Regions from separate parts of the Homo sapiens genome. Here region 1 is linked to region 2. Evidence: promoter capture Hi-C in human tissues and cell types (Jung and others, 2019). All regions are on one chromosome and are shown on one strand. The core of a region is centred on a gene start or on the middle of the fragment in contact, and the rest is flanking DNA. Distances in the headings are between cores, read along the strand shown.

The links. The method cuts DNA at HindIII sites, captures the fragments that hold promoters and counts their contacts. A contact is called where the count stands out against the background at its distance.
Region 1: a contact is called between a fragment that was not itself captured here and the fragment with the promoter of POT1 in region 2, in 1 of the 25 tissues and cell types used here (hippocampus).

Annotation. Positions count from the first base shown.
Region 1 is chr7:124,969,372-124,972,836 of GRCh38, reverse strand. The region is part of intron 2 of POT1-AS1 (POT1 antisense RNA 1); the gene reads right to left. Among named protein-coding and RNA genes, the nearest start is that of POT1-AS1, 41 kb to the right of the region's middle. The HindIII fragment of the contact is 4,786 bases long and covers 1-3,465 here.
Region 2 is chr7:124,927,527-124,931,109 of GRCh38, reverse strand. POT1 (protection of telomeres 1) reads left to right here and starts at 1,285. Exons shown (of 19, transcript NM_015450.3): 1 at 1,285-1,316; 2 at 2,111-2,295. POT1-AS1 (POT1 antisense RNA 1) reads right to left here and starts at 1,237. Exons shown (of 8, transcript NR_125719.1): 1 at 1,094-1,237. RefSeq lists enhancers at 1,001-1,295, 1,050-1,349. The HindIII fragment of the contact is 5,005 bases long and covers 412-3,583 here.

The sequences.
Region 1 (3,465 bases), core at 948-3,447, 41 kb before region 2:
CCAGATATTTGGTGAAATATTATTCTGTATGTGCTTTGTGAAGGCTTTTTTTTTTTTGGATGAGATTAACATTTAAACTGGCAGACTTTGAGTAAAGGAGATTACCCCCTATAATGTGGATGGGTTCCATAATGTGGGTGGGCCTCATGCAAGCAATTGCAGGCCTTAGTAGAACAAAGACTGACCTCTGAGCAAGAAGGAATCCTGGCAGCAGACTGCCTTTGGCTTGAACTTTTACTCTTCCTTGGGTCAATAGTCTGCCAGCCTACTCTACATATTTCGGGCTTGCCAAGTCTCCACAATTACATGAGCCAATTCCTTAAAATAAATCTCTCCCTCTTTCTCTCTCACTGTGTGTGTGTGTGTGTGTGAGAGAGAGAGAGAGAGAGAGACAGAGAGAGGCAGACTGGTATCCGTCATTCCACATATACACATACATACACGCATCTTGTTTGGTCTGTTTCTCTGGAGAACTCTGACTAATACAGTACCATTGTCCAAAATAATTTGACTTTAGTTATAAGGGTTTAATTCTGGACTTTCAATTCCATTCCACTTACCTATATGTCTATCTTTATGACTCCAGTACCAATTTTAATGCTTCCATTTCATGATTCACTTATCTTATACAAGATTCACATATATACAAGATTCACATATATAAACAAGTTTGGATCAGACTTCAAACCTATGTATGGCACACTCTTCATTTTGAACTCTCATGCGATATTTCTATTTCTACCAAGAACTGAGCAGAGATATGACAACTCGACTCATATTAGGTCATTGTAATTTTTTTTTTTATCATCACCAAAGGTGGAAAGTCAGAAGATGCTAACTTTGTGTAGCTGCCTTAGTTCCAACTTTGTGTTTAATTTCTCCTGAAGTCTCATCTTTTGTCTCTGCATGGACATTATGGCTCAAATTCTTGGGCATTATAGTTTGTTTCTGAATTTGATAATCACCTCCTAGATAAGCAATATCAACTTGTGCTCTTAAATGCTCCTTCTTCATTTTTGACACTACACACACACACACACACACACACACACCTCACTTTTAGTTACAATTTATTCATCATTTCTAAGTATGAGAGTAAAGATTTTGGCCATAATCTTCGTTAGAAACAGAATTTAAATACATTTGTTTGTTTTTGTTTGACAATTTCAAAAGTCTGTATTAAAATTCAATTTTAAAAGTTCAATATTAAATATATATAGTCAAGAAAATAGGATATGAGTACTCAAATTTTATTGATATGAATACTCTAAATTTCTTATATATTGAATGTATAAACCTATTCCACGATTAAATGACGTAGTCTTTTTTTGGCGGGGGAGAGGGAAGGGTCTCACTCTGTTGTCTGGGCTGGAGTGCAGTGGAGTGATCTCGACTCACTGCCACCTCTGCCTCCCCGGGCCCAAGCGATCCTCCAAGTAGCTGGAACTACAAGCGTGTGCGACCACTCCCAGCTAATTTTCGTATTTTTTGTAGAGATAGGGTTTTGCTATTTTACCCAGGCTGGTCTCGAACTACTGAGCTCAAGAGATCCACCCGCCTCTGCCTCCCAAAGTGCTGGGATTACAGGCACGAGCAACCGCACGAGGCCTAAATGACGTAGTCTTAACACGGATTTTAGTGATTAAAATAAGTCACTGACCACTTAATAAATTAAACTATTGTATTTAATTTTATTGTTCAGCTACACATTGGATTATATATATGTATTGTTAACCTTAGGAGTTACTTAAAACTTACTATTTCTTTTTCCATAAAAGAAAATATATTCTGAATTCTAAATAACTATTGCCAACAGTATTTTGAAATTTTTAAAAAACTCATGTCTGTTATTCTATATTATATTTAGGGCTCTACCTACTTGAAGACAAAGCCATTTAGACAAACATAAAGGCAGGTTATATTGTAATAAGGGAAGCATGCAATTTCTAAACTTTTTATCTTCCTTACTGCAACAAAAAATTCATAGACATTTTTCAAGTCTCAAAACAAAAGTTCCAGAGAAAGTATTAACAAGTTTATTTCCAAAATAATCAGCTATAAACTCCTCAACTTCAGTTATTAATGCATAGAAATGACACAACAAACCACAGTAATCTTAAGAAACTTTAATTCTTGAGGTGGACCATCCACTCCCCATTTCCTAATGAAATGGCAGTAAAATAAACATTTATTTCCCATACTTCCACTTTAAAAGTAAATGGTTTTTTTGAAATATTTCTTTGAAAATATTTGTTGTTAAAATACTAATTAAGAAAACTAAATTTAGTGTTCTTGTCAAAATGTCATTTTGCTTTTGGCAAGCTTTTCCTATGTTGTATGCTGTTCAATACATTTTGAGAAGCAATAAATTAGTATTTTAACAACAAATCTTTTCAAAGAAATACTTCAACATAACATTTACTATGAATTAGGGGCTTTCTTACAATATGTTAATGATTTCACATTGCCCAAAACTATCTTCCAGCCATATAGCTTTGATTATCTTCACTTTATCTGTTTCTAGAGCTAGCAAGTTGAGTATCCATAATGAATGTCTATGGTGTTTGTTCAGGGAAGAAGACAGGCAAAAATAAAGATACACAATGTGCTTAGCATGTATGAATTTTGTAAATATGATTTACTCTATCAATTAAAACAATTGGTAAGCCATACACCTCATAATTGTAGGTACCATGTTGTATATAACCCTATTTTTCTTAGTTTTGACAGGAAAGTTTCCCAAGAGTGGACAGCTATCACTACAGGAATATAAAACTTTTAGAAATTTTATACAACATGTTGAAATTATTCTACACATTTTTGAACTTGTATTTTGGGTGAAAATTGATTTAATTTTAACATACTTCTAACTTATTAAAACATATATTTGGTTTTGAACAATTCAATAGGTTTGATGTTGTAGATTGAAGCTTTAAACAGGTACCTTCTCAACAAGATTAACAGCTAATATGGCCTCCCTCAGATGTGTGAGTTTGTTTCATAAAGAATTATTTATCCAGTTTCATTTCCCAGTTGATACGAATCTCATTTTTCATAATTTAATATTTTAACATTTTTATATGTGATGTTAAAATTATTATGTTGATTAACTTTCAAAGAACTTTTTTCTGTAGAAATAATCTATTCAGCCTTCTTTTTTTTTTGAGACGGAATCTCACTCTGTTGCCCAGGCTGGAGTGCAGTGGCGCAATCTTGGCTCACTGCAAGCTCTGCCTCCTGGGTTCGCACCATTCTCCCGCCTCAGCCTCCTGAGTAGCTGGGACTACAGGTGCCCGCCACCACGCCCGGCTAATTTTTTGTATTTTTAGTAGAGACTGGGTTTCACCGCGTTAGCCAGGATGGTCTCCCTCTCCTAACCTTGTGATCTGTCTGCCTCGGCCTTCCATTCAATTTTATATCTAGGTGAAAGTATGAGATTTTTATTTTTAGCATATCTGTTTCAGT
Region 2 (3,583 bases), core at 36-2,535:
CAAATGGACAGCTCCTGAGTTCATGCACTTGTCACCCCGGCTTCTGCGTGGGATATAACTACAGGGATGGGGAGGGGAAACAGGAGATGGGCTAATACTGAATGCTTCCTGTTGATTAAAAAGGCACTTCAAACATAGCTGGCTGGGCACAGTGGCTCATGTCTGTAATCCCAGCACTTTGGGAGGCCAAGGTGGGCGGATCACAAGGTCAGGAGTTCGAGACCAGCCTGGCCAAAATGGGAAACCCCGTCTCTACTAAACAAATACAAAAATTAGCCAGGCATGGTGGCCTGCGCCTGTAATCCCAGCTACTAGGGAGGCTGAGGCAGAAGAATTGCTTGAACCCGGGAGGTGGGGGTTGCAGTTAGCCGAGATTGCGCCATTGCACTCCAGCCTGGTGACAGAGCGAGATTCCGTCTCAAAAAAAAAAAAAAAGTTAGCTATATCCTCCTGCAAATATGTATATAAAGAAGATATTTTAGTTCAAATTAGCCTTGGAAATATTCATGTAATTCTTTATTACATTTAGTTTCACACTAGGATGATTTCACTTAAATGATTGAAGGCATATATCTGGAATTAGCAGAGAATTCATGTTTAACAATTTATCATTATAAATGATAAATTATAATATTTATCAATTATAAGTTATAATAAATATTAAATAAACTATAATAAACCTATAAAATAAATTATAATAAATATTAATTATACCACAAAATCATGGCCCTATAAAACAATGACAAGGTTAATCAAATCTGTCTGTAAATAGCAAGACTCAATGGTGGCATTATGCCAATGCCCGAAATTACTATAAAAACTCCCAAATAACATTGTTATCCTTGTAAATGCTTCCTTGTAAAGACTGCAGTAGGTGCCTATTTCTTGGAGGAAGAGAACTGGACATTAAAAGAAAGGCTCTGCCTACAGGAGCTTCGAATCTACCAAAGGGAAGCTCAAATCCCGCCCAGCGGACCCGCCCGCTTCCCCTAAGCTTGCCTCCCGCCACGAAAGCTGGAAAGTCACTGGGGGCGGAGCTAAGGGGAGCTGCGAGAATTCCGGGGGATGTGACCGGACTGGGCGGGGCCTGTACCTTGGCCCTGCGCTCCCGTTGACGTCGCATCCTGTCAGTATTTCGCCAAACCTCCAGGCGCCATCAGTGTGTGAACCGTTACGCAGCTGGTCCACCGCGGGCGGAGAACAAGCGACTATGCCCAGGGATCCTGCACGCATGCGTGGAGCTGAACCGTCAGCGTGCGTGTGACGTCACCTGCGCGCCCGCCTAAACTCTTCCTAGGGTTCTTTCTAGAGTACGGGTGAGTGAAATTTGTAAGGTTTGGTGTGTTCATTTGAGTGGGTGCCAGACGTAACGGGCCCGGGATTGAATTAGTTTAGATCAAAATTTGATGTAATTATCGCAGAGAAACGCTTTCTTACGAGTGTTTATCTCGAGCCTGCTGTGTTCAGCATCTTTCTTGGTGTTTTGGGAGAAGCAGACAGGAGTTAAGTCCAAGTCCCCGCCCTCACAGAGCTCAGGTGGCTTGGGGGAAGGTTGGTGCGCAAACATTAAAATTAGATATCGACACTAGTGAGTGTCCCCGTCAAGAGGTCTGTGAAATAAGGTTGAGCCTACGATGCAGAAGTTAATCTCAGTTCAGTAATTTTTGTTTCTTCATTTATTTAGCGGGTGAAGGGAGGGGGCCACAGAAACATGTTGGAGTACGATGCTTTTGGTGCACAGTTTGTCTATACAATATTACAGCTCCCGTGGGGGTTAAAAAAAAACACGATTTTTCAGCCTCCCTCTTCCCCAATAAATTTTACATTTTAAAGCACAATGTTAAAAGCGTTTGTTAGTGACGTTACAGATCTTAAAACTGGCTTTTTGGAGGTACTTTACGCAGCTAAGTAGAAAATGGTTAAGTTTCAGTTCCTTGGAAGAATGTTTTGTATTGATCTTTGCAATAAAATTGTAAAATAATCCATCCTCCTGTCACCCCCCAACCCCGAACCGTGTTAACTATAATAAGGAAAAGCATAACTAAGTCAAAGAGACTTAAAGCAAATTATTGACTTCATTTTGGGTAAAACACTGGTTTTGTATTTTCAGCAGCAAGTTGTCAGATTCCCTAGTTGAATTTGCTTTGGACATCAGTGTGAAGCAGAACTGATATGCCACTTGAATTAATAAAGGAAGTCAATGGGGTGCCTGAAGTTCAGCCGCTGAGTAAATTACATAAAGTAGATTTCGGATCCCTACAGCCAGGTTACAATTATAGCAAGAAATATATTCAGGTAAGAATTTCTATAACTCAGAATGCTTTTTCCTACTAAAAGGAATGCAGTTTTTAAGTGTTGAGTTTATTTATGAGAACTGGTTTAGGTATGGTTTTTATCTTTGTCATAACATTTGAGATTGAATATTTCAATAAGTTATTCTTATTCAGTACTTATTTAGCGAACAATTATCAAATTCGTGTGTGAAACATTGGAGTAAGTTTCTGAGGTACAAAGATGAATAAATATAGTCCCGGAACTAAAGATAATCACATTTCTGTGGGGTCTGACAGATCAATCACCTGATCTCCAATTAAAATTAATAGGTGTGATATTAGCATTGTGATGTGTGAACATGAGAGAGCTTTTGGTTCTGACAGATCACGAAAGTTGAGCTGGAACTTACGGGATAACAGACTGTGCTGTACCTTCCTTTGAGGTAAAAAGCAGTCCTTATGTGCATGTTGAGGAATTTGGATATTACTCTAAAAGCTATGGGAAGTCTTTAGTAGGTTTTAGCAGGAGAAAGACATGATTTACTTTGAGTTCAAAAAACTTTGCTCCTAGGTAGAGAATATATTGGCGAATGCAAGATTAGAGGAAAGATGTTTAGTTAAGAGGCAATTACAGTAATTTAGGTGAGAGTTGATGATGATCTGGGCCAGTGGCAGAGGGGATGATGGGAAGGATATTGAAAAAAGATAGTAATAATAATAACTAAAGTTAACATTCATTGCATTTTTTTCCATGCGTTAGGTAGTTTTTACGTATATTATTTAATCATCACAAAGACCTATGACATAGGTACTGTTATTAAAGACACTGTGTTTCAGAAAGGTTAAGCAATTTGCCTGAGATCATATTGATGATATGAAGTAGAGCAGGAATTTGAATATAGATGATTTCCTTTAGACCTGACAGGATAAAGAAGCAGAATCAGTAGGTCTTAGAGAACAATTAGACTAGAGTGGCAAAGAGAAATTCAGGAAACTTCTGTTTCTAATTCCTAGCCAACAAGGAGAAGAAAATAGGGGGTACATACTTAGGGAGAAACATGATAAGTTCAATTTTGGTCATATTTGAAAGGTCTTTAGAGGTATATAAATAGTAGTGTGCAGTAGGCAAGTGGATTGGGGAGTTTGAAGCCCAAAGGGACTCTCATTTAGATGGGTTTGAGCCAAAGCATAGAAGAGAAGAGAACCATGTTGAAGGAGTCAGTGAAAGAAAGTAGTATGAATAAGTAGCAGAGATGGTCTAGAGAAGGAGGAAGAAACTCAGGAGTCTTTGATACGTAAGAATGCAAGTT